6 separate regions of the Homo sapiens genome follow, and all the other regions are linked to region 3. The links are contacts of gene promoters, found by promoter capture Hi-C in blood cells and fetal thymus (Javierre and others, 2016). All regions are on one chromosome and are shown on one strand. The core of a region is centred on a gene start or on the middle of the fragment in contact, and the rest is flanking DNA. Distances in the headings are between cores, read along the strand shown. Region 1 overlaps MOV10L1 (Mov10 like RNA helicase 1). Region 2 overlaps MOV10L1 (Mov10 like RNA helicase 1). Region 3 holds the start of PIM3 (Pim-3 proto-oncogene, serine/threonine kinase). Region 4 overlaps TRABD (TraB domain containing). Region 5 overlaps MOV10L1 (Mov10 like RNA helicase 1). Region 6 overlaps BRD1 (bromodomain containing 1).

Region 1 (4,224 bases), core at 1,393-3,892, 160 kb before region 3:
TGAACAAAAGAGAGAACTGAAAAACAATACAGAAAACCAGGAAAACAAAAAGTTGGTTCTCCAAAAAGATCAACAAAATTGACAGACTTTTAGTAGATTAACTAGAAAAAAGGGAAAGACAAATTACTAAAATAAGATAGGAAAGTGGGAACATTACTACAGAATCTACGGAAATAAAAAGGATTATAAGAGTATGAGCAATCGTATACCAATACCCAGATGAAATGGACAAATTCCTAGAAACACAAAACCTACCAAGACTAAACCATGAAGAAAGAAAATCTGAATAGACCAATTACTACTAAGGAGGTTAAAGCAGTAATAAATATTCTGAAAAGGAAAACCCCAGGACCTGATGGCTCCATAGCTAAATTCTACCAAACATTTGAAGACTAACTAATACCAATCTTTCTCAAACTTTTCCAAAAAATTCAAGAGGAGGGAATACTCTCTGACTTATTCTTATGAGGCCAGCATTACCCTGATCCCAAAGCCAGACAGAGACACTTCAGGAAAAGAAAACTACAGACCAATATGAACACTGATGAAAAAATCCTCAACACGATACTAGCACACAAAATTCAGCAGCATATGAAAAGGATTAGCTGGGTGTGGTGGCTCATTCCTGTAGTCCCAGTTACTTGGGAGACTGAGGTGGGAGGATTGCTTGAGCCCAGGAGCTCGAGGCTGCAGTGAGCAGTGACTGAGCCATTGCACTCCAGCCTGGGCAACACAGTGAGACCCTGTCTCAAAAAACATATATAAAATAAAAGGATTACATGCTATGATCAAGTGGAATTTATTCCTGGAATGCAAGGATAGTTCAACATTTGAAAATCAATTACTGTAGCAACACACATTAACAGAAGGAAAAAAAATCATATGATCATCTCAATACAGAAAAAGCAATTGAATTTTTTTTTTTTTTTTTTTTTTGAGACATGAGTTTCCCTCTGTCACCAAGGCTGGAGCGCAATGGTGCGATCTCAGCTCACCGCAACCTCTGCCTCTTGGGCTCAAGCGCCTCCCAGGTAGCTGGGATTACAGGTGCATGCCATCACACCCAGCTAGCATCTGACAAAATTTAACACCCTTTCATGATAACGTTTAACAAACTAGGAAGAGAAGAAAATCAGGCTGGGTGTGGTGGCTCACACCCATACTTGCCTGTAATTCCAACACTTTGGGAGGCCAAGGCGGGAGGATTGTAAGACCCTGTCTCTATGATATACAAAAGTTAGCCGGGCATGGTGGTGTGCCGCTGCAGTCACAGCTGTGAGCTGTGATTGCGCCACTGCACTCCAGCCTGGGCGACAGGAGAGCCTGTCTCAAAAATAAATAAATAAATAAATAAATAAAAAAGAGAAAAAGGAAAAGAAGAAAAAGAAAGAAAGAAAGAAAGAAAGAAAACCATCACCTCAAAATGATGAAAGTCATATATGAAAAACCCACTGTTAACATCATACTCAATGGTGAAAGATTGAAAGCTTTTCCCATAAGATCAGGAACTTCCAAGGGAAGGATGCCTGCTTTCACCACTGCTATTCATCATGGTACTAGAAGTTCTAGCCAGAGCAATTAGGCAAGAAAAGGAAATGAAAGGCATCTAAATTGGAAAGGAAGAAATAAAATTATCTGTTTGCAGATGGCATGCATAATTTTATATGTAGAAAACTCTAAAAGATTCCACAAAAAACTGTTAGAATAAATAAATTCAGCAAAGTAGCAGGGTACAAAATCAAAGGACAAAAATTATCTTCATTTCTAAACAACACTGAAGAATCTGAAAAGGCAGCTATGAGAGCAATGTATTTACAACAGCAGCAAAAATAATAAAATACTTACAAATTAATTTAACCAAAGAAGTGAAAAACATATACAGAGAAAATGACAAAACACTGCTGTAAGAAATTAAAGAAGACATAAATAAATGTTAACACATTCCATGTTCATAGCCTGGAGGATTCAATATTGTTAAAATGTCCATACTAACCAACGCAATCTACAGATTCAATGCAATTCCCATCAAAATTCCAATGACAGGCCGGGTGCAGTGGCTCACACCTGTAATCCCAAGCACTTTGGGAGGCTGAGGCGGGAGGAATACTTGAGGCCAGGAGTTTGAGACCAGCCTGGGCAATGTAGTGAGACCTCGTCTCTGGGGAAAAAAAATTCCAATGCTATATTTTGCAGAAATAGAAAAATGCATCTTAAAATTCGTATAAAAGATCTTGAAAAGCAAAATAAATTCTGCCAAAGAACAACAAAGCTGGAGGACTCAAATTTCCTGATTTCAAAACTTACTACAAAGCTGCAGCATCAAAACATCAAGTCGGTGGCCTGTGGAAGGAACTGAGGAGCACCCTCCAAGCCCAGCAGACCTGGGTCCCCAGGGAGGAGCTGAGGAGCACCTCTCCATCCTAGCAGACCCAGGTCCAGCTTTTTCTGCCACCTCGATGAACCATTCAGGCATTTGCCTACAAACTCAAAGTGACTGGGGGACAGAGGACTGCGCTCGCGACTCATGGCAACCTCCCTGCCCAGGATCTGTGAGTAAAACACATCTGAACTTGTTTCTATCACGGCAGTGGATTGAATTTGCACCTTCCATCCTAAGAACCCAGCACTGCCCAGGCCGGGTTTTCCCTGGCATTGGGGAACATAAGTTTGGGCTCCCAGTGCCAGATGATCAGGCAGGCATAACCTGGATACAGGTCAGACGAGAGCCACTGGGGCGTCTGCCAGAATAAGTTTCCTGCGTGAGGAACCCCGGTCATGGGGCATCAGCTGTCCTCCTGGTAAAACAAGGACATTTTTTTAAACAAGGAGGTGTATTTGGAAAGGATCCCCTGAAGGGCGCATGGTGAACACCTAGGTCCCATTCCCTTCATTCTCCTTAGGACAGGGCTGCCAGCTGCTCTGGCACTGGAACTCCAGTTTAGCTGGGGACTCTCAGAACACCTCAAACCCCTACAGAAAAAAACCCTCCTGGACAAAGGGCAATGTTCTCCCCTCAAACTGCCAAATTTATAGACTTTTCTTCCTTCTTGAACTTTTCTTCTCCACCTACCCCACTCAGAACGTGCTCCTCTGTCTCCCATGTGGGTGGGGACCTGGGCTCTCCTCCCCTGGACCCTTGCCCTGCTGGCTCTGTCAGGATGATGGTAAAAGGCTAGAACACTTCTTGCTCATAACAAAGGCCTCCTAGTCTAGCGAGAGAGGCCAGGCTGATGGCAGAGGTATCCCTCAGTTCTTCTGCTCCAGACCCCAAAGGCCCTGTGCGTGACCCCCAGTGAGGCTGTGGGATGCCAGCCCCTGGTGTACAGCAGGTCTGGCAGCGTGAGTGCTATGGTGCCTCATCCCTCACGGCCAGGCAGTGACCCTCGTTATCCCAGCTACCTGTGAAGAAAACAAGCCAGATGAAGGTCTGAACCTGAGAAGGAACCTCCTGGCTTTGTCAGAAAACAAGAGCATTAGAAGATGCCAACACCCCACAGGCCATGAGACACTTCCTACCTCTGCAAGTAATGGCTGGAAAGTCAGGATGTCAATTTTTTGTTCCACACATTTTCTAAGTCTATCTGGGATTGGATATTGGGGAAGAAAACTTGGAAGTTGTCGTCTTGAGTTCCTTAAAAAATTAAGTTCACAAGTTAAAAATAAGTCTTTATCACCAGGTATCACTAGACATTCTTACCTAAACATCCTTTCCTATTTTAGGAAGACCAAAGTCCATCCATTTCCTGAGAAGAACTGATATATGAATAGCTGGTCTAAGGCAGTGGTTTGAAGCTTTCGTTTTAGCTCTGGGATCCTTTCCTCAAACAGTTCCCACAAGTGCTCTACTATTTGTAAACAGGTAAGTGTAGCTGCACAGGCTGTGGGAAAACAGGGCTGGAACCCCCAGAATCTCCTGGAACCAGGAGTTTGGAAACAGCTGTTTTTAACATTCTATGAGCTAAGCTCTTCCTACTATATTTGACATCAGGACTCCACCTGGGCCTATCCCTGCAAAGCACACATTAGGAAAAGGCTGCTCTGTCTGGGTCCTGCCTTCGATTTGTTTTTGTTTTGTTTCCCAGCCTGTGGTTTCTCTGGGGAAATTCAGTTTGTTCAGGATGAAGAACATCGCTGCTCTGGAGCCAAGCCCAATGCGGCAACAGAAACAATGGGAAAGGGACAGACAGGAGAGGAGAAGCCAGGAGAGAACAGGGAAACGAAAAG
Region 2 (4,282 bases), core at 457-2,956, 130 kb before region 3:
ATCATCTCTACAGGTTCTGGGTTCCAGATCCTCTTTCAAAGATTCTGAACCCAGAGTACTCCTTTAAATACACACAAAAACATGAGGACTATCGTATAATTTCAAGTTCAAAAGGAAATCTTTGGAGGAAAAAATATAATTAAATAATTGGGAGAGGAAAAGAGGGTAGTGTGAATGAGCCAGTTGTACATCTCTGATGATGGAAGTCCATAAATACTAACATTGGTGAATTAATAAAAGATACAAGCATATTGTTTAAGTGACTCAACTATCTACCAGATAAGGTAGAAACAGAAACCCAGAAGAGCATCAGGTCTGCAGCATGAAAGTGCAGGTGGGGAACGTGGAGGGAGGCTCTTCTACTTTGCATTCACAGTCTCTAAGCCAGAGCTGACAGAAATGTTCTCTATGTGTGCTGCCCAATTTGGTAGTCACTAGGCTTCAGTTAGCACTTGAAATGTGGCCAGGGAAACTGAGGAAACACTTTTATTTATTTATTTTTAAGAGACAGGGTCTCTATGTGCCCAGGCTGGTCTCGAACTCCCGCCTCAGCCTCCCGAGTGCTGGGACTCCAGGTTTATGCCACCGCGCCTGGCTGTAAGTTGCATTTAGTTTTAATAAATCGAAACTGCTGCACATGAGTGGTGGCTACCATATTGAATGATGGAATTCTAGACTTTGAATTATTTTATTGGGTATGCTTTTTTTTTAATTTGAGAAAGATGATACTAAGCATTAGATGGTACTAACTATAATAGTATAATAAAGTACATCTCAAGTATTTTTAAAAAGTAGTTAATAGCTCAATACGTTTGCCAGATTCCAAATTACATTTAAAAATCGCTGGGCATGGTGGCTCATGCCTGTAATCCCGGCACTTTGGGAGGCCGAGGTGGCGGATCACGAGGTCAGGAGATCGAGACCATCCTGGCTAACACAGTGAAACCCCATCTCTACTAAAAATACAAAAAATTAGCTGGGCGTGGTGGCAGGCGCCTGTAGTCCCAGCTACTCTGGAGGCTGAGGCAGGAGAATGGTGTGAACCCAGAAGATGGAGCTTGCAGTGAGCCAAGATCATGCCACTGCACTCCAGCCTGGGTGACAGAGCGAGACTCCGTCTCAAAAAAAAAAAAAAAAAATTGAAAGCTTTCCCATACAGGAAGAAAAAGATTAATTTGAAAATACGATGGAAAATGATGTTAATAGAACACATAAAAACTCCTGAAAATAAATTTAGTAAGAAATTTACAGGACCTAAAAGAAGAAAACTATTGAACTATAAAAAGAATACAAAGGAAGGCTTAAATAAATGGACAGACATATGGAAAAGACTCCATATGACCCAAATATCAATTATTCTAAATGAAATGCATAAACTCAGTGCCATCCAAAGCAAATCTGGGCAGAGGGGGAGAAACAAGATTCCAAACTCATCCAGAACATGTGAAGAGCCAGAAAAATACCATATGCTAATAAGAGCAAAGAAGGGAAACCTGCTCACCACCTATCACAGCAACCATGCCATGGGGCCCCCTTACAAGCATCAGGACCACATCACATGCAGGTGGGATTCTGATACATGATTAAGGAATTTTCCAAATCAGCAGGGAAAAAGTGAGCTACTCAGATGACTGGCTAGCCATTAGGAAAGCAATGTCTGGTTCCTTCTCTCAGTCTGTGCACCCAAATAAATTCCAGGCAGGTCAAATATTTAAATATCAACAAACAGGCCAGGCATGGTGGCTCATGCCTGTAATCCCAACACTTTGGGAGGCCGAGGTGGAAGGACCACTCGAGGCCAGGAGTTTCAGATCAGCCTACGCAACACAGTGAGACGCCATTTCTACAAAAAAATTTTAAAAATTAGTCAGGTATGATGGTGTACACCTGTGGTCCCAGTTACTCAGGAGGCTGAGGTGGAAGAATCGCTTGAGCTCAGGAGTTCCAGGCTGCAGTGAACTATAATCGCACTACTATACTCCAGCCTGGGCGACAGCGCAAAGCTCTGTCTCAAAAATTGAAAAAAAAATTCTAATTGTCAATAAACAATTTTCAGAGTAAAATTTGAATATTAGGAATAAGAAGTGGAATAAGCCTCCCTAAGGCTTCTTACAGCATCCAAAAGCTACATGGAAAAGAGGCACACTTAACTACAAAAAATGAAACTATAAAACACAGTCAAAGATGATCCTGGGGAAAATATTCCTAACACTTTCATATAATAATTTTCCTTAAAAAGCTCTGATTTCCCTAATATATAAGCTTTAACAAAAGAAAAAGCTGAACTCAACAAAAATGTGGACAAAGGACCCAAAAATAATTCATAGAAAAAACATGAGGCCGGGCGCGGTGGCTCACACCTGTAATCCTAGCACTTTGGGAGGCTGAGGTGGGCAGATCACGAGGTCAGGAGCTCCAGACCATCCTGGCTAACACGGTGAAACCCCGTCTCTACTAAAAATACAAAAAAATTAACTGGGTGTGGTGGTGGGTGCCTGTAGTCCCAGCTACTCAGGAGGCTGAGGCAGGAGAATGGCGTGAACCCAGGAGGCGGAGCTTGCAGTGAGCTGAGATTGCGTCACTGCACTCCAGCCTGGGCGACAGAGACTCCGTCTCAGAAAAAAACAAAAACAAAAACAAAAAGAAAAAGAAAAGTTACCATACTTAAGGCTTAAGTGCAAATTAAGTGCAGTCTCTCATTCTGCTCCTAAGAGTATAAATTTGTATATTATTGATGTTACTTTGGTGATAACCATTAAATTGTTGAAAAAGCAAGAAAATAATGGATATATAATTGCTATGTTCTCCACAGCATAAATTCATAGGCAAACTTTACTTTCTAAAGTATACATGTCTATGTTGTTTGAATGATTTACAAAGACTGCTGTTTGTTTATTTATTGAGACAGGGTCTTGCTCTGTCATCCAGGCTGGAGTGTGGTAGTGCAATCATAACTCATTGCAGCCTTGACCCTCTGGGCTCAAGCGATCCTCCCGCCTCAGCCTCCCATGTAGCTGGGACTACAGGTATGTGCCACGACACCAGGCTAACTTTTGTGGGTTTTTTTTTTGTAGACACGAGGTTTCACCATGCTGCCCAGGCTGGTCTCTTAACACCTGAGCTCAAGTGATCTGCCTGTCTCAGCCTTCCAAAGTGCTGGGATTACAGGCGTGAGCCACTGTACCCAGTCTATTTTTTAAAACATAAATCATAAAGAGCAAAAGCATCCCCTTGAAGGTACATTCCACTCTTTCTCCCTTGGCCGGGTCATGTCTGATAGATTAAACACAAGGAAAAACAACACAAAGTCCCGTGGCGAAGAAAAACTGTTCCCAAATGAACTCAAACCTTACCCTGATTGCTTTCAGTCCATTGGACACTTTATTTTCTTCCACAACTGCAATCACTTCCTGTCCAACATTCAGAAGCACTCTGCTAGTCACAGCATCACTGGAGAAGTAGATCATATCATCAATCATGCCATAATCGCTGCAGTACCTTGTCACGACACCCCGTACAGTTTTCAGCTTAGTGTCACCTGAGGTAGGTAAACAAAGAAGTTATCTTGGCCATAAAAGCAAGCGTACGCTACAGTGAACCCCACCAGAGAAAGGCAGAGTGCAAAAGCCTCCTTTTTTTGCAGTTCGGAGGCACTGACTCCGAACGGGCTGACTTGAGACAGAGAGAATCCCATCAGAGAGTGCTGTGTCTGGAACGTGGGGTTTGGAGGCAGACAGCCCAGTTTCCTCAGAAGGGCACAGGTAGTGGTTGTGGAGGTGACAGCCCTGACTCCACAACAGACTGCATGGGGTTGACTCCTAGCTCTTCTACTGCCATTGGTGTAACCCTGGACTAGGTCCTTAACTACTCTGGGCCTGTTGCCATCTGTAAGATGGAGACTAATCGTCACTACCCAAGAGAGCTGCTGAAGGGTTAAGTGGCAGAACACACGTGCATGTATGGACCTCTGCGTGGCTGACACGCGTTAAGTGCTATGTAAATGGCCACTTATATCAGCATCTGGGAGTCATTAGCATGCACGGTTTTATTAGTACTATCGATTATCTTTTTATTACCATCAGCAGCAGCCTCGGAAGACTGGAGAATCTCAACAAACACGGTGCTGGAAAAGGTTCGGGGCTGGGCAGACAAGTCTGGCCCAGGAGCAGCGCACGCCCTCAGCCGTCTGGCCACTGCTGCAGCCACGGTCCTGAGTCCTGAACGTGCCTTTACTGCAGCTTCCCAGCCACGGGAGGAACCTGGGGCGACGGTTACAGTACAG
Region 3 (4,073 bases), core at 1,112-3,611:
GCTCCTCACAAGCTCTCGCTGCTGGACGTGGTGCTGGCCACGTCATCAGGGTCGAGGGTGCACAGCCGCAGGTCACAGCTCTCCGGGACGCCCCCGTCAGCCCCCAGCATCCAGGGATGGGCCGCAATCTGATCCAGCGACGGCCGCTCTGAGGGCCGCAGGGACAGGCACCACCGGATCAGCTGCTGGCACTCTGTGCGGAGCGGAGAGGTCAGGGAGGGCCCAAGCAGGGCGAGGCCCCCACCCCCGCCTCGAGCCACCACGCACCTGGAGAGACCCTCCTCCGGAAGAGCAGGCGGCCTCGGAGGATCTCCTCGTCCTGCTCGAAGGGGATGTCCCCACACACCATATCGTAGAGAAGCACGCCCAGCGACCACACGGTGGCCGAGCGCCCGTGGTAGCGGTGGTAGCGGATCCACTCCGGGGGGCTGTACACTCGGGTGCCTAAGGGGACACAGGGCTTAGCACGCCCACCACAGAGGCAGAGCCGCTCAACAGACGGCGAGGTCCCTGCTGGTTAACTCCCTGGCCTCAGTAACAGGAAGCAGAGCCAGGCCTCAAAATCCTGCTCGTCATCACCCTGGAAAAACCCCGGCAGGCGATGGGGGGGCTGGGGGAGGGGCCGGCCGTCCCCCTCCGCCGGCCGCGGGGGAGGAGCAGGTCACATGAGTAAGAGCTCGGCTTTCACAACAAACAGATGCGCTGTGAGGCTACCTGGGTGGGGGGGGGACAGCGCGGGTCCCTTACCGCCCGGCGCGCCTGCCTGCGGGAACGGGGGGAGGGGAGAGAGGGAGGGAGGAGGGAGGGGCGGGCGGGGAGCCCCGGCTTCCCCAAGCTCCGCAATGCGGGGATTTCTGCCGCCGCGCCCCCGCGCTCCGCACGCACGCAGCTCCCGCCCCCACGCAGGGGAGGCCCCGCCACTCCAACCGCGCCGCGGGGGCCTCCAGGCTCCCGGCGCAGACCCAGCCCGGCTGCGCCCTGCGTCACGCACGGAGACTCCTCCGCTACCGCCCCCAGCCGGGGGTCTCTCGGGCCGGAAGGATGTCACGCGCCTCCCACACCGGGGCAAGAGGCCCCGTACCCCCCAACGCGATGGAGGAAGCAATATTGAGCGCGCCCCTAGCCCCCACCCAGCACGATCCCGCTCTTGATCCCTCGCTCAGCCCTCCCCAGGGTAGCGCGTGGGCCTCTGCTCCCCACGAGAGCAGACCCAGGGCGCGCGGCCGCCCAACAGTCATCAGCCCCTCCATGTGCCGCCCCTGCAGGCGTTAACCCGCCGGCAAGGCCCCCGGAACGTTCCCTGCCCCGCGCCCGCGCTCACCGTCGAAGTCGGTGTAGACCGTGTCCTTGAGCAGCGCACCCGAACCGAAGTCGATGAGCTTGAGCTCTCCGGAGCGCAGGTCCACAAGCAGATTTTCGTCCTTAATGTCGCGGTGCACGACCCCGCAGCTGTGGCAGTGGCGCACGGCGGCCAGCACCTGCGCGAAGAAGCGGCGCGCCAGCGGCTCGTCCAGGGCGCCGCGCTCCGTGATAAAGTCGAAGAGGTCCTGCGCCGGCTCGGGCCGCTCCAGCACCAGCAGGAAGCCGTCGGGCCGCTCGAACCAGTCCAGCAGGCGGATGACGCCGCGCGCGCCGCCCGCCGCGCCCACCTTGCGCAGCAGCACCACCTCCAGGGGCACGGTCGCGCCGCCCTGGGGGACACGGCGGTCAGCAAAAGCCCCGCGCCCGCCCCCCGCCGCCGCCGCCGCCCGTGCCCCAACTTACCAGGCTGCCCCACTCGGTCACCCGCTCCTTCACCACGTGCTTCACAGCCACCTGCGGAGACGCGGGGGTCAGGCCGGGCCAAGCGAGGCGCAAGGCGCGCGAGAAACCCGGGCCCGCCCGGCGGTCCGACTCACCGGGAGCCCGTCGGCGATGCGGCTACCCGCGTAGACCGTGCCGAAGCCGCCGCTACCCAGCACGGCGCCCACCTGGTACGCCTTCTCGAAGCTCTCCTTGTCCGCCTTGGCTGCAGGGAGGCGCGGGCGGGGTTGGTGCGGCCCGGGGCGCCCCCGGTCCCCGCCCTGGCCCCGGCCCCGGCCCCGCCGGCCCCGCGCGTACCTGGCTGCAGGATCTTCACCGGGAGGTGGTCCACGCCGCCGGGCCCGCAGAGGTGCGCCAGGGAGCCGAACTTGGAGAGCAGCATCGCGGGCGACGGCCTCCCCGGAGCCCCGAGCCCCAGGCGCCGAAGCCGCGGCCGATCCGGGCGAGCGGCGCGCCGGGGACACCGGCCGTCCGAGCCCGAGGCGGTCCGCGCGGCGCAGTGGGCCCGGAAGGCCCGCGGGGACCGCGTAGACGCGCAGCAGGCGGAGCGCCTCACCCGCCCCGGCCGCCTCGCCCGGGGGTTTTGGGCCGCGGCGCCGCGTATCCCTCCGCGGGGGCGGGGCGAATCGGGACCCCGCCCCCTTCCGCCCGGGGCCCGCGAGGCGGCGGCGGCCGGGCGCTAGCTGGGGAGACGGCGGGGCAGCTTGGCGCCTGTCTTCGGGCGGGCGAGGGCCGGGTGCGGCGGGCGCGGGGCCGCTCCGGGACTCGTTTTCGTAGCGCAGCCGCGGAGGCGCACGGCGTGTCGCGTCGGTCCGCTCTCCGCGCTCACGCTCTCACTCCGCGCAGGCGCAGTGCCCGCGCGGGTGGCGGCCGTGGCGCCTCGGGCAGAACGAGGAGGGACTGCACGAGCCAATGGAAGCCGGAGTTTTTAAAGAAATCCGGCGCCCCAGCCAATGGCGGGGCGAGCCGTTTCCTGGCTCCGCCCCCAGCAGTGCCTAGGAAGGTCACCCGCCGGCCCCGAGCAGGGTTCCTGGGGGTGTGGGAGTGCGGGAGGCGACCTGCGCTTGTCCCGCGGCCTCGAGGTGACACACGCCGCCAGTCTGCGTCCCCGGCTGTCTGCGCATCCCGTCGCGCACGTGGCCGGGCGCGCGGGGAGGTAGCGCCGGCTCCTCTGGAAGCCCTCGCAGCGGCAGCGCCCCCAGCCTCGCAGCCCCGGCGGGGGCCGAGAGCGCACCTGGCTGGAGATGCTTCCTCCTCACCCTGGGCTCTGACCTCACGCCCGCAGCCCGAGGGCCCTCCCTGGTACCTCTGCCCTGCTGGCCGGTGCCTGGAGTGGCCCCGCCCGACTCCTGCCGTCTGACACGGTCCTGGCTGCCCTCCGGGCTCTCCAGCAGCTGCTGTCCACCTCCACCAGGGAGCCCACCTTGATTGCTGCGACAGCCGCACTCAAAGGCTGAACAGCCGGGGTACACATTGCCCTGGTCTGGACTTCACCCTGTCGTGCCCCTTCCCTGCTCTCTGTACAGAAGTCTGACTCACCTGTGTGGTTTGGTGCAAACCCACAGATTGCCAACATTGGTCCAAAGTCACCGGCCTGAGAGCAGCTCAGGGTTCCAGGACGTGAGTGGCCACCCGCCAGCCCCAGGGCTAGTGGGTTGAGAGTTGGGGGCCAGAGGGCCCAGGGGCTGGTCCTCTTGGCACTGCCAGGCGTTCTCAGTGGCCCTCAGGGGTCTAAATATTGTGGCAGACATCCCCGGGCGGTCTGGTGTGACCGTCAGCGCGCACACACACTTGCCTCGGAGCTTCCAGCCTCCCCTAAGTCTGACCTCTCATCTCTATACAGTCACCATCGCTGTCCCTGCGCTGACCACTCACACACCACTCCCCTGTTCAGCTCTTCTGAGGCTGTGGCTCTCGGGACTGGCCCAGGCCCACCTGCCATCTGGGCGCCCTCTGGGGCTCGCTTCGTCGCCCGCTGCCTGGGCCCATGCCTGTGCTCCTGGGGGCTCCTCTCTTGCCTAGCTCATCTCTTCCTGTCCCTTGGGTCCTGAGGATCAAAGCCAACGCGACATTGTTTGTCCCCAGGCCCCTCCCCCTCCAGCCGCTGCTTCCCAGAGCTCTGTCCAGTTCTCTCCCGCAGTACGAGGGCAGGGTTGGGGCTGGTGGGTTAGCCTTCCCCCACCCACCACGCACCCAGCACAGGGCTCCCCCGAGATCAGATCCCTGGTAGGATGACACCCCAAGCCTTCCCCTCCAGCAGTATCCACACA
Region 4 (4,225 bases), core at 1,477-3,976, 230 kb before region 3:
AGTTCAAGTCAGGGTCCATGCACCCCAGAAAGCCAGGGCTCCGTGGCAACTCCACGGACCACGTACCCTGGAAAGGGACCCGTGGCCGCTGTGTGGACCACACACCCTGAAAAACGAGGGCCCGTGACCGCTCCACGGACCACGTACCCGGGAAAGGGACCCGTGGCCGCTCTGTGTACCACACACCCTGAAAAGCAGGGCCTCCGTAGAGCCTAGGCCCCACACTGTCAGTACCCCTCCTGCTTGGCCATCACTGGCACGGCTGCCATCAAGCTGGGCAGACAGGGCCACCAGGCCACCTCAGCCCAGCGCCCCTCTCCCTCGGAGGTGCCTCCTGCCTGACCCTGGAGAACCCTGTGAAGATCACCTTTGCAGAACAACAGCCAGGGACCGACCCCGAGAGCCCACAAAGCGGGGAAGCCCCCCGCCCCTGTCTCTGTGCAGCCAGCCCAGCCTCCACCTCACCTCGTGCGGTGGCTGCTGCTCCTCCCCGTCCATGGCTGGGCGGCGGCTTCCTGCACCTGTGGGGAGCCTGAGGAGAGGCATGAGAGGCGGGGTTTCCACCTGGAGCCCCAGACCTGGCTCAGGACTCACTGCGTAGTGCCCTGTCAGTCTAGAACCATCTGTTGGGTGGGCCTGGGGGCTCCTTCCCCCATATCCCCAAATGCCTCCTGCCCATCAAAGGCTGCTGAGGTCCAGGGTCGGTTCAGGTCAGGCCCGGGTGGGGAAAGGCCAGCAGGTCCCCAGACACCCCAGCATAAACCAAACGCAGACGGGCCCAGGGCGGGTTGCTGGTGCACAGGCCTCACTCAGAACAGGGCCAGAGCTGCCCAACCCTCACTGCGGCACGGCGGGCACACATAGGAAGGCAGCCCTGGGGTCCACACATGATCTCAGGACACAGCAACGCAGCTGCTGACACATGGCAAGGACCCCAGGGCCTTTGTACAAAAGCCACTTCCCCTTTCAGTAACTACAGCCTGGGCAACAACACCGGCACAGAGTCAGTACAGACGGAGGAATCCACAAAGCACACAAATCAACGTGTTTGGACCTAAGACCTTCTCTCCCACTTTAAGAGACAAACATGGTGTGGAAGGAACCACGGTAGAAACCCGGACAGGCTGGGGCAGCCACACGAGGGGGCTGCCCCGAGGCATCACAGCTCCCCACAGACTCTCAGAAACCAGGAGCTCAGGCCGGGGGCCCAGGAGCCTGAGGGAAGGAAGAAAACAGCCAGGCGCCTGCAGCACCAGAGGCACGCACCGGCCAAGACCCACAGAGCATCGGCGAGACCTGCGCGGAGCCCCTCGAGGCGGGGCCAGGGACCAGCAGGCTGTCCTGAGACTGGCCACAGGCCCTGCTGCACCATGTGGCTCTTCCTGAATGTTCTCAGCCACGGAATGCCAGGAGTGACTGTTTACCAAGTTAATGGCTCATGCATGTCCTGGCGGATGGATGTGTCACCAGGCAGAATCATTAAAATATCCCAAACAGGCCAGGCGCGGTGGCTCACACCTGTAATCCCAGCACTTTGGGGGGCCAAGGTGGATGGACTGCCTGAGCTCAGGAGTTCGAGACCAGCCTGGCCAACATAGACCATCCTGGTGAAACCCCATCTCTACCAAAAATACACAAATTAGCCAGGCGTGGTGGTGCACACCCGTAATCCCAGCTACTGGGGAGGCTGAGGCAGGAGAATCACTTTGAACCCGAGAGGCTGAGGTTGCAGTGAGCCGAGATCCTGTCACTGCACTCCAACCTGGGTGACAGAGGGAGACTCTGTCTCAAGAAAAAAACAAAAGTAAAAAATAAAAATGAGCCGTTGGAAACCATTCTGAGCTGTCTAGTCGTGCAAGGTATTGTGGTTTTGTCTTGAAGCGTCTGCGTCAGTCAGACACGAGCATCTGGCGAGGAAACGACGGGGCTTGTAGGATGTGCTTCAGAGGGGCCACTGCCGGGTTCTGCACTGATGCCTGCGTGCATCTGGGGTCATTTTCATGTCACTACTGCTGCCCACTTCTCAGAACTCATAAGAAAAAGGAACAATGAGCAATAAGACGCTATGTCAGGTTCCTTTCCTCTGCAAACCCTGTTGGCACACAGCCACAGCAGGCACAGACCTCGGCCCCAGCCAGGACTCACAGACCCAGCTGGGTCCTGGCCACCCACATCCAAGTTAAGATGCCTCCAAGCTTGGGTGTCCTAACCTGTGAACAGGAAGGAGCTCTCTGTGCAGTGTCTAGGAGGGCAGCTCAGGGGCTGGGGGAGCAGGGACGGCTCTGAGCAGGGGAAGAGGCCTGTCTCAGTGCAACCAGAGGCCCCATCTGAAGCTGGCCGAGAAGAGGGCAGCCCACCCTGCCCTCTTCTTGGACAGCCGGGACTTCTGGGAGAGGAACTGGCCTGGCTTGGGGTGGGTGGTGCAATGGGGCCATGGTCGGGGGAGGTCAGCTGAGACTAAGGAGACAGCTGATAAACACCAGGCTCATGTCCCCGGGGGCCTTGAGCCTCTGCAGAGGGCAAGGGGGGCCCGCTCCACAGGCAGGCTCCCCTATGGGGCCTCACAGCCTTGGCAGGGGGTCCCACTCCTTGCCACCTGGGCTTGAGTCTGGACCCAACCCTGGCCTGGGCGTCTTAGCGGTTGGCACATCCAGGAAGTGCAGCTGGCACCGGTCACAGCAGGACCAGGCCCCGGACCCTTGGGCCGCCTCCTTCCCCTTTTGTAGGTGAAAGCTCCACGATGCAACCCGACCGGAACCCACCGGAAGCTGTTGTGAGCAGCCGCCAGGCCAGCCAGCCCAGACAAGCACCCGGTCCGGGAGACGGCCGCCTCCCTGGGTCTAGCTACACACACAAGCCAGAACTCTTAGGAGCAGCGCAAGACTGCCGGGGCGCACGGGGGAAACTCACACACGGAAGTCCGGACCATTAGAGCAGCGCAAGGCTGCCGAGGCACACCGGGGAAACTCCTTAAAGAAACTCCTGTGCAGCCGGGCGGGAGGCTGCGTCGGCCCAGCCAACAGGAGGCGCCCACGTCGCCACAGCCCTTCCCCCATGGGTGTGGCAGCCCCAGGTCTGCGGTCAGCCCCCACCCTCCACCCAGCCTGGCCAGACCCGCCTCTGAGGCCGGCCTAGGGTACGCCTGTGGCCATGGACAGGGCAGGGTCTCGGTGCAGCAGCAGGCGCTGGTCCTGACCCCAGTCGTGCCATGGGGTGGGCGTGCACAGGTCTCCTGTCAGGGAGGGCAGAGAAGCTTTCCTGGGCCGGCTGCCAAGCCTTGAGCAGGACGATGTCAGCGCCACCAGAGGCAGTGCCAGCCCCCAGCCCTGGCCCCTGCAGCCTCTCAGCAGAGGCGTGCTGCCCGCAGGGAGCCAGGCGGGAAGGTCACTGAGGACCCCCCAGCACCTAAAGCCCGTGATTCTGGGGGACGTCTCTGACAGTCACTCTTACAGTCTCAACACTCTCTTTCCCTCCTCGCCAAGGCCCCTGGAGAGCTCTAGGGTGTGATTTCAGGTTACCAGCCCTCCTCCCTCTAGTCTGCTCCCAGGCAGCTGTGCTCTCAGACATTTATGGCTGGGCCCAGAGCCTCTCCCAGCTGCCTGGCGGTGAGCAAAAGGCCCTGGCCCAAAAGCCACAGATGCTGAGCCTGGACTCTGAAGTGTCTTCAGAGACAATGTCTGAAGAACCCCCACCTGGTTCCCAGCCCCACAACCTCTGGGTCCCAGCAGAGCATCACCTGGGGTCCGGCCAGCACACACTGCAGCCACCCCCTCTGGGTCCCAGCAGAGCATCACCTGGGGTCCGGCCAGCACACACTGCAGCCACCCCCTCTGGGTCCCAGCAGAGCATCACCTGGGGTCCGGCCAGCGCACGCTGCAGCCACCCCCTTTCTACCTGTCCTTTTCAGATACGCTCAGGCCCATCAGCAGAGACCAGCAGACCCTGGCTGCCCCTCCGGGGGGACAGACATCTCTCCTTCCCAAATCCCCAGTGCTGGCACTGCCCCAGGGAACCTCGCAGTGGCTTCTGGCCTTGTTACCTGCAAGGCCAACCCGCTGGGAAGCGGTGCAGCCTGGCAGGAAGCCAGACGCTTGTATCAGACCAGCTGTGCTTCACTCTCCCTGCCCCGCACGGACGTCCACCGAGCAGGACTGGGGTGGGTGCTGAACACGATTTGTGGGACATGCCTCCTGAGCATGGGTAGCCGGCAGACAGGGTCCTCAGA
Region 5 (3,901 bases), core at 397-2,896, 190 kb before region 3:
GGCTCTTCCTTCTCCGTGTGACAAGGGAGGTAAGGGAGGTGCAGGAGCAGAGAGTCCACAGCGTTGCTGATGGACGGGGTGGGGATTTTGCGGGAAGGAGTCGTCAGGAGAAGCTGCGGAACTCTTGCATGGGAAGGCTGTGGGACTGAGCGGAGAGCAGGAGCTCGCTCGGCACATGATCTGTTTCTAGAGTGCAGAGGGGCCACCCCACCTGGGGCCATGAGCTGAGGAACAGGTGCCCCGGCTTCCCTGGCTCGCCCACCCCAGCAGCTTCTGCTCTGTGGTCAGGAGGCCTCAGTGGGGAAATGCTCTTGGGGCAGAAACATGTCCTGATGCCTGAGGAAGCAGGTATGGGGCAGAGAGAGTGTCCGGAGCCACGCCAACACTCAACAGGACGCACCTTGGGCCCGCACCGTCCTCACTGCCGAGCCCACGTTTACCCTTCTCACTGCTGATTCCAGGATCTCCCCTCTCCAACCCTAGATGCTGGGCAAATCCATCACCTCTGAGCCTCAGGTGTCCCACTGTGGGGTGAGACCCTGTGGTCAGACCTGTGCGGGGGCGGGCTCCTGCTTACAGCAGTGCTGGGCCCAACATGTCCTGCATCCACTCACGGTCAGCTGACACCTTTCACTTCAGGTATCAATGTGTAACTCTCAAGACACGGATTTCACAAGTGACACCGTGAACCCCTCCCAGTGAAAGATGTGGAAATCAGCAAACTGCCATTTCCCCATCTCATGTCCCTATTTCTGTTGAAAAAAATTAACATTATGTATCTTTCCTAGAATGTAAGTATTTAGGTTTCAATTCTGTATTAATTGCAGTTATTTAATGTCACTTTTGCCAGATGACATTGCTACTTCTTTGCCCTTTGAAGTGCCCCTCCCCACTCCAGCCGCCCCCAGTGGCCAACTAACGCTGTGGGGCCTCTGCAGCTGGGCTGCAGCACCCTCCCTGCTTCTGCACAGAGCGCCTCTGAGAGAGCGGCCTGCAGCACCCTCCCTGCTTCTGCACAGAGCGCCTCTGAGAGAGCGGCCTGCAGCACCCTCCCTGCTTCTGCACAGAGCGCCTCTGAGAGAGCGGCCTGCAGCACCCTCCCTGCTTCTGCACAGAGCGCCTCTGAGAGAGCGGCCTGCAGCACCCTCCCTGCTTCTGCACAGAGCGCCTCTGAGAGAGCGGCCTGCAGCACCCTCCCTGCTTCTGCACAGAGCGCCTCTGAGAGAGCGGCCTGCAGCACCCTCCCTGCTTCTGCACAGAGCGCCTCTGAGAGAGCGGCCTGCAGCACCCTCCCTGCTTCTGCACAGAGCGCCTCTGAGAGAGCGGCCTGCAGCACCCTCCCTGCTTCTGCACAGAGTGCCTCTGAGAGAGCGGCCTGCCCTGGCCGGCCACCTCCTCCCACTACCTGAACATCAGCTCCAGGGTGCAGGGTCCATGCAGTGCCCGCTCTGCCCCCAAAGAGCCCTCTGCACCCCAGTGAGGACTGGCTCTTCGGCTCTTGACCTTTGACTCATCAACACACATTAACAAAAAAAATCCCTGTCTTGTTCAGATCCGTGCTGTCCAATCCGGTAGCCACACACGGCTCTCGGGCACCGCACAGTGGCTAGTCTGAAACCTGACATGCTCTAAGTGTAAAATACATGGTGGATTTTGAAGACTTGAACCAAAAAAAATGTAAAGTGTCTCATCAATCACGTTCTACTAATCTCATGATGAAAGGACATCATGTATGTGAGAGAGTTAAACGCGCCGATGAAACCATCCGTGACACGCTGTGATAGGCGTGGCTGGCTGTGCCTTTGCTCCATGTGGAGCTGACGGACCACCTCCTGTGGTCACCCTCACGACCACCGTGACGCTGGACACTGTCCAGGGTGACCTGTCTCCAGGCTGTCAGGGAGGGTCACGACCACTGTGACGCTGGACACTGTTCAGAGCGACCTGTCTCCAGGCCGTCAGGGAGGGTGGGGCTTCCCTCAGAGGCCCTGGCTTCTCCCTCTCTCACCCTCAGCCTGTGCCCCCGACACTGTCTGGCTCTATGCACTGAGAGGGAGCTGCCTGCTGCCTCCCCGACCCCACCCCCCTGCACTGGGGTCTGAGAGTGCCTTGGTCCTCACTCAGCCTCCCTGGGCTCGAAGCTCTTCCTCCCAGCCCCCAGGGGAGGTCCTCCTATGACAGCCGGCACCCCACAATCCATCTCCTCCGCCTGTCTCCCCTGAAGAGCCCCCAGCGCCAGGGACACAAATGGCCCCCAGGGTCTGACCTTACAGAGCCCAGCCGTTTCCTAGGCAGCCTGCCTCCCCACGCCCACTCCAAGAGACTCACTCTCCTGCTCAGAAGCCCTTCACTGGCTTCCCGGCTCACCAGAGGTCGTCCAAAGGCCCCTCCACAGCCCGCCAGGCCTCCCCCTCACCACCCCTTTCAGGCCGTTCCTGCTCACGAGGCTCTGGCTCTACAGTCTCCTTTGGGGAGACCTCAGTGCTCCCCCACCGCGGGGCCTCTGCATGGGCCAGTCCATCTGCCTGCCCATCCCACTGCTGGCTCCTTCGAGTCCTTGGGGTCTCGGCTTCCCCAGCTCCATTCAGGCACGGCCCTCCCCAACCAGCCTTTCTCGCCCACAGCCCTGCCTCCCTCCCTGAGCACTGAGTCTCTGGGTCATCCGCCCCTCAGACAGAAGCTAGGAGAGGACTCCGACCTCTGCCCTGGGAGGCCCCATGCCGCGCTCCATGCCCGGGGCTCACCTCACTCCTATTTGGTAAAACAGCCCTGAGCTGCTGCATGTGGTGATGATTATCCGGAAGCGTGAGGCTTTCCAGATGTCTTCTCCGTCTCTGCAATACGGTTTGACGGCGTCAATAACTATCTGGGGGCAAGGAGGCGTAGAGTTAGTTTACTCCTCCAATTATTAAGCAGAATTCCAAAAGGGAACCTTGCCCTGGTACCACTTCTTAGTTACGTCTAAGTCATGATTTAAGGTTTTTTTCTCAAAATATCTCATACTTCCTTATCAATTCAGTCCATGTTTTATCAACTCTAGAGCCACAAATATAACACATAATCCTGCAGACCCTTCCCCAAAACAACTTTGTACATTTTCTATTCAGTTTGTTTGTTTGTTTATTTAGAGAGGGAGTCTTGCTCTTGCTCTGTCGCCCAGGCTGGAGTGCAATGGTGCAATCTCGGCTCACTGCAACCTCTGCCTCCCAGGTTCAAGTGATTCTCCTGCTTCGGCCTCCGGAGTAGCTGGGATTACAGGCGCATGCCACCACGCCCAGCTATTTTCAATGTCTTTTTTAAACGCAATATTTCAGGCTGGGCACAGTGGCTAAAGCCTGTAATCTCAACACTTTGGGAGGCAGAGGCGGGTGGATCACTTGAGATCAGGAGTTCGTGACCAGCCTGACCAACATGGTGAAACCCTGTCTCTACTAAAAATACAAAATTAGCTGGATGTGGTGGCACACACCTGTAATCCTAGGTACTTAGGAGGCTGAGGCAGGAGAATTGCTTGAACCCGGGAGGCGGAGGTTGCAGTTAGCCAAGATCACACCACTGCACTCCAGCCTGGGCAACAAGAGCAAAAACTCTGTCTCAAACAAACAAAAAAATAAAAGCAATACTTCGCTCTATAACCAAACCAGCAACTTAAAGGAATACTTAAAACCAAACCAGGCCGGGCACGGTGGCTCACGCCTGTAATCCCAGCACTTTGGGAGGCCGAGGCGGGCAGATCATGAGGTCAGGAGATCGAGACCATCCTGGCTAACACGGTGAAACTCCGTCTCTACTAAAAATACAAAAAATTAGCCGGGCGCAGTGGCGGGTGCCTGTAGTCCCAGCTACTTGGGAGGCTGAGGCCAGAGAATGGTGTGAACCTGGGAGGCGGAGCTTGCAGTGA
Region 6 (3,816 bases), core at 270-2,769, 160 kb after region 3:
GGCAGGAGCTGGGTGCTGTTGCCAGGAGGCCTGGGGTCGGCCACTCTGTAACACTGTGGGCCCTCACCCCAGGAGCTGGCCTGTCCTCCCAGCAGAGGCGATTTTAACCTGACCGTCGCCTAGCCCTGCCCTGTGTCTCCCCCATGTGTCTGGAATGGACGCGGAGGCGCTCAGCTTCTTCCCGGCAGTGGGGATGCCTGAGTGCTTCTTCACTTCTGTCCTTTCTCGTGGAGCCTCCCACTGTTGATTTTTACATGGGAAATATCGAGCCCTTGAGAGCCGAGTAAGGAACCTTGATCCTTCTGAGTGGATGAGGCTGCATGTGTCATGGGACCTTGGGCCCAGGTGCTGTCAACGGGGCCCCTGCCACTGCCGATGGCGTTTGTTAAACCAGGTTGGGGAGCAGACTAGTAAGTTTGCTTAGCAGCCAGTGCGTGATAAAGGGCTTCCTGGTGATGAGGAGATTTCTTCCGCTTCGTAACAGATTCCCAGGCCAAATGTCCTTTTGGCCGAGGTTTTCAGAAGTGTCGATTGCAAGCTGAGGGACAGGCAATACTCAGATGCTCCGGGGAGCTTGGTTTTTGGAGCCCACATTTTCCTGCCTTTGCTTGAGTTGATGTGGATCTTGTTACTCTTAGCCCCGATTTCCTGCCTGAGGGTGTTCAGCAGCATTGAGGAAAACCCAGAGATCCTCACTTCAGGGGACATCAGCGCAGCAACGCTCTGCCTCGCCATGGAGAGGCCTGGCCTTGGGGGTGGGGGTGCGGGGCTCGGCCTCCCTCCTTGAGCCTCCTTTTCTGAGCAGTTTGGAGTCCGGGGTCCTTGCATCTTGTAGTCCAGCAGTCTTTGCCTTCACACCCTCGGTCCTTTGAAAAGCTATGACAGTACCCTGAGGTGGGCAGGTGGGAACCCGGGGACAGAGGCGTTGGGGGAGAGGAGGGTCTCAGGGCTGTGAAGCATGTGCCAGAAACTGATGGCCACGGCTGTCCTGAGGCTGGCAGGGCGCGCGTGTCCTGCAGCTGTGGAGGATGACAGGTGTTGGGGGCCCACTCAGGCCAACTCCCTCGTTGACTTCCTCTCCCCTTTGAGGTAGGGTCAGGGTGCCCCGGCACTGTGACGAGCAGGCCTCATGCGGCCAGGCCTGGGGGACATGGTGAGGACAGGGCTGAGGGCAGACCCAGGTGGCCTACTCTCCTGCGACCATCTGTGTCATGGCCTTTGCAGGGCTCTGATTTTCTTCTGATCACCCTGGTGTGGATGTTGGCTGGGTTGAGGCTGGCGGCCTGTGCTGTCTGGCGCACTCTTCTGTCCACTGAGAAGGGAGCAGGTGCTATCAATGGAAATGGGACCCTGGCTGTGGGGAAACGTGTGTCGGGATGGAGGCGCTGTGCAGGGCAGGGCAGCAGGTCGGCTGTGTGCCAGGCCCCCGTCATGCTCTGTCCAAGCCAGGATGGGCCCAGCATGTGGTTTTCTGTGCACCTGGTTTCTTTCCAGCCGCTCCCTCCATTCCCAGCTGTCCTGGAGGTGGGTCCTCAAGGGTCCCCCATTCTGTCCTGGCCCCGCCTTTGTGGGCCTTTCTGGTTCTGTGAAGGCCCCCCCCGCCGCCAGCTTGCGGAGGCCTCTGTCCTCTCTGGAGGGTGGAACCTGTGCACCGGGGCCAGCCCCCTGCTCACCTTGGCCTGGCGGTCCCCTCTGTCCCCTCCATCCCCTCTGTCTCCTCTGTCCCCTCTGTCCCGGTGCTGTCCTGGGGCTCTCTAGTGAGGGTGGTCTGTTGTCCTCCCCAGGATGGGCCTGCAGGACCCCTGACGTGGATGCCTCTTGGGGTCTCACCTGCATGGTATCTGAGGCCTTTTGCAGAAGGAGCCTCTGGGTTTGACTGACGGAAGTGTTCACTGTTCTCAGAGAGAAAATGATGAGGAGATGAAGGCTGCCAAAGAGAAGCTGAAGTACTGGCAGCGGCTGCGGCACGACCTGGAGCGCGCTCGCCTGCTGATCGAGCTGCTGCGCAAGCGGGAGAAGCTCAAGCGTGAGCAGGTGGGGCTGGGCCTGTCCCGCGTGGAGTGCACCACTGGCCACGGGGCGTGGGTGGGACGCTGGCAGCTCCTGCAGAGGGTGGGCTGCACCCGGTGGGTCCTGGCCCACAGCAGTGCCTTGCTCAGCCCAGGCTGGGTGCCTGGCTGCCATGGGTTGCAGAGCCCTAAGTGGAGGCTGCGTTGTCCTATGCCTGGACGGAAGCACAGGAGCCTGTGGGGGCTGCTTGTGGCTGTGGGGCGCGTGGTGGGGCTGAGACGCATGTGCGGCTCCCTAAAGCTGAGGCTCTGCTGGGCCCCCCCAGGTGAAGGTGGAGCAGGTCGCCATGGAGCTGCGGCTGACCCCGCTGACGGTGCTGCTGCGCTCAGTGCTGGACCAGCTGCAAGACAAGGACCCCGCCAGGATATTTGCGCAGCCCGTGAGTCTGAAGGAGGTGGGTGTTTGCGGCGCTCGTCTGTCCTGCCGCATGTGTGACTGTGGATTTGTGCTGCCGTTTGACCGGGAAACGTGTGATTGGCTAGAGTACATCCCTTGTGTTCTTAATTCTCGTTTTTATTTAACGTATTTGTTTTTAAATTATAAAAGTGATACATTTCATTGTAAAATACTGAAAGTGCAGTGGGCAAGAGGCCCTGTGCAGACAGTACCCTGGGCTGTGGCAGCATCCGCCCGGCACCCTCCAGCGTGCTTTAGCTGAAGGAGCTGGGGTCGGGAAGGTCCCTGCAGTACTTGGGTCTTATGTCTGTACCGTCTGCGTGTCTGTGTGTGGCTCTCAGATAGGATGGGCTTGTGGGTTATATGGAATAATAAATATAGAGTCAACTAATATCCTGTTTTAGTTTGTAAATGATTCTTTTTCCTCCCTAAAATTAGGTACCAGATTATTTGGATCACATTAAACATCCCATGGACTTTGCCACAATGAGGAAACGGTTAGAAGCTCAAGGGTATAAAAACCTCCATGAGTTTGAGGAGGATTTTGATCTCATTATAGATAACTGCATGAAGTACAATGCCAGGGACACCGTGTTCTATAGAGCCGCGGTGAGGCTGCGCGATCAGGGAGGTGTTGTTCTGAGGCAGGCCCGGCGCGAGGTGGACAGCATCGGCTTGGAAGAGGCCTCGGGGATGCACCTGCCTGAGCGGCCTGCTGCGGCACCGCGGCGGCCTTTCTCCTGGGAAGACGGTAAGAACTGGCGCCGTGTCCGGAGGAGGTGGAAGACGCTCTTTCTAGCAGACTCTGTCCTGCTCTGTGTTGCCAGCTCCCTATCAGCATGGTCCGGGAGCCACTAGCATGCAACCGCATACATCATTTACATTTTCTAGTAGCCTCACTGAAAAATGGAAAAGAAGCAGGTGGAATTTACTTTAATAATATGTCTTATTTTACTCAGTGTATGGAAGAGTTGATTTCAACATGGGATCGGTAAACGTTACTGAGGATATATAAGCTTTTCACCTTCTTTGCCATCTGATGTGTATTTTACGCTCAGCACCTGTCACTTCAGACTGGCTGCGTTTTGGGTGCCCACCAAGAGGACTGTGTGGCTGTGGCTCCCTATGGGGTGGCCGGTCTCGACGATGCAGACCCAGAAAGCAGCTTAGTTGGGGGTTTTCATCCAGAGTGGGCCTCGGCTAACTTCTGAGGGTGGCGTGAAGCCGGAGGATCTCTGGCTTTGCCTCCAGCCCTTTAACTTCGTGGTTTGCGCATGTTGTAGAAAGGGCTCTGGGAGTGTGTCCACGGCCCACCTGGACTCCAGCCTGGGCTTGTGCTTCTTGGTTGCC

What was found. Contacts are between HindIII fragments. The CHiCAGO score rates a contact against its expected background, and 5 or more counts as called.
Region 1: a fragment that was not itself captured here is called in contact with the fragment with the promoter of PIM3 in region 3 in 1 of 17 cell types (endothelial precursors); the score reaches 5.1 in endothelial precursors.
Region 2: a fragment that was not itself captured here is called in contact with the fragment with the promoter of PIM3 in region 3 in 1 of 17 cell types (endothelial precursors); the score reaches 5.2 in endothelial precursors.
Region 4: a fragment that was not itself captured here is called in contact with the fragment with the promoter of PIM3 in region 3 in 7 of 17 cell types (M0 macrophages, monocytes, M1 macrophages and 4 more); the score reaches 8.5 in M0 macrophages.
Region 5: a fragment that was not itself captured here is called in contact with the fragment with the promoter of PIM3 in region 3 in 2 of 17 cell types (megakaryocytes and neutrophils); the score reaches 6.7 in megakaryocytes.
Region 6: a contact is called between a fragment that was not itself captured here and the fragment with the promoter of PIM3 in region 3, in 1 of 17 cell types (non-activated CD4 T cells). The highest score is 5.1, in non-activated CD4 T cells.

What each region holds. Positions count from the first base shown.
Region 1 is chr22:50,119,909-50,124,132 of GRCh38, reverse strand. It overlaps MOV10L1 (Mov10 like RNA helicase 1), which reads right to left. Exons shown (of 27, transcript NM_018995.3): 10 at 3,517-3,631. Among named protein-coding and RNA genes, the nearest start is that of MOV10L1, 32 kb to the right of the region's middle. The HindIII fragment of the contact is 2,305 bases long and covers 1,490-3,794 here.
Region 2 is chr22:50,091,257-50,095,538 of GRCh38, reverse strand. It overlaps MOV10L1 (Mov10 like RNA helicase 1), which reads right to left. Exons shown (of 27, transcript NM_018995.3): 2 at 3,354-3,538. Among named protein-coding and RNA genes, the nearest start is that of MOV10L1, 3.4 kb to the right of the region's middle. The HindIII fragment of the contact is 1,116 bases long and covers 1,149-2,264 here.
Region 3 is chr22:49,959,060-49,963,132 of GRCh38, reverse strand. PIM3 (Pim-3 proto-oncogene, serine/threonine kinase) reads right to left here and starts at 2,361. Exons shown (of 6, transcript NM_001001852.4): 1 at 2,101-2,361; 2 at 1,899-2,008; 3 at 1,765-1,815; 4 at 1,322-1,691; 5 at 268-444; 6 at 1-193. The coding sequence starts at 2,185. The coding sequence ends at 6. It overlaps MIR6821 (microRNA 6821), which reads right to left and starts at 267; the gene lies at 194-267. RefSeq lists silencers at 1,149-1,198, 1,839-1,888, 2,029-2,178, 2,229-2,868, 2,909-3,188 and 2 more. The HindIII fragment of the contact is 13,464 bases long and covers 1-4,073 here.
Region 4 is chr22:50,189,334-50,193,558 of GRCh38, reverse strand. It overlaps TRABD (TraB domain containing), which reads right to left. Exons shown (of 10, transcript NM_001320485.2): 2 at 466-532. The coding sequence starts at 498. Among named protein-coding and RNA genes, the nearest start is that of TRABD, 5.5 kb to the right of the region's middle. RefSeq lists enhancers at 1,800-1,949, 2,140-2,359, 2,630-2,989, 2,675-3,289, 3,290-3,904 and 4 more and a silencer at 1,600-1,649. The HindIII fragment of the contact is 1,058 bases long and covers 2,198-3,255 here.
Region 5 is chr22:50,144,654-50,148,554 of GRCh38, reverse strand. MOV10L1 (Mov10 like RNA helicase 1) reads right to left here. Exons shown (of 27, transcript NM_018995.3): 19 at 2,745-2,866. Among named protein-coding and RNA genes, the nearest start is that of PANX2, 24 kb to the left of the region's middle. The HindIII fragment of the contact is 7,030 bases long and covers 1-3,901 here.
Region 6 is chr22:49,797,206-49,801,021 of GRCh38, reverse strand. It overlaps BRD1 (bromodomain containing 1), which reads left to right. Exons shown (of 13, transcript NM_001304808.3): 4 at 1,903-2,034; 5 at 2,336-2,464; 6 at 2,905-3,217. Among named protein-coding and RNA genes, the nearest start is that of BRD1, 29 kb to the left of the region's middle. The HindIII fragment of the contact is 3,930 bases long and covers 1-3,484 here.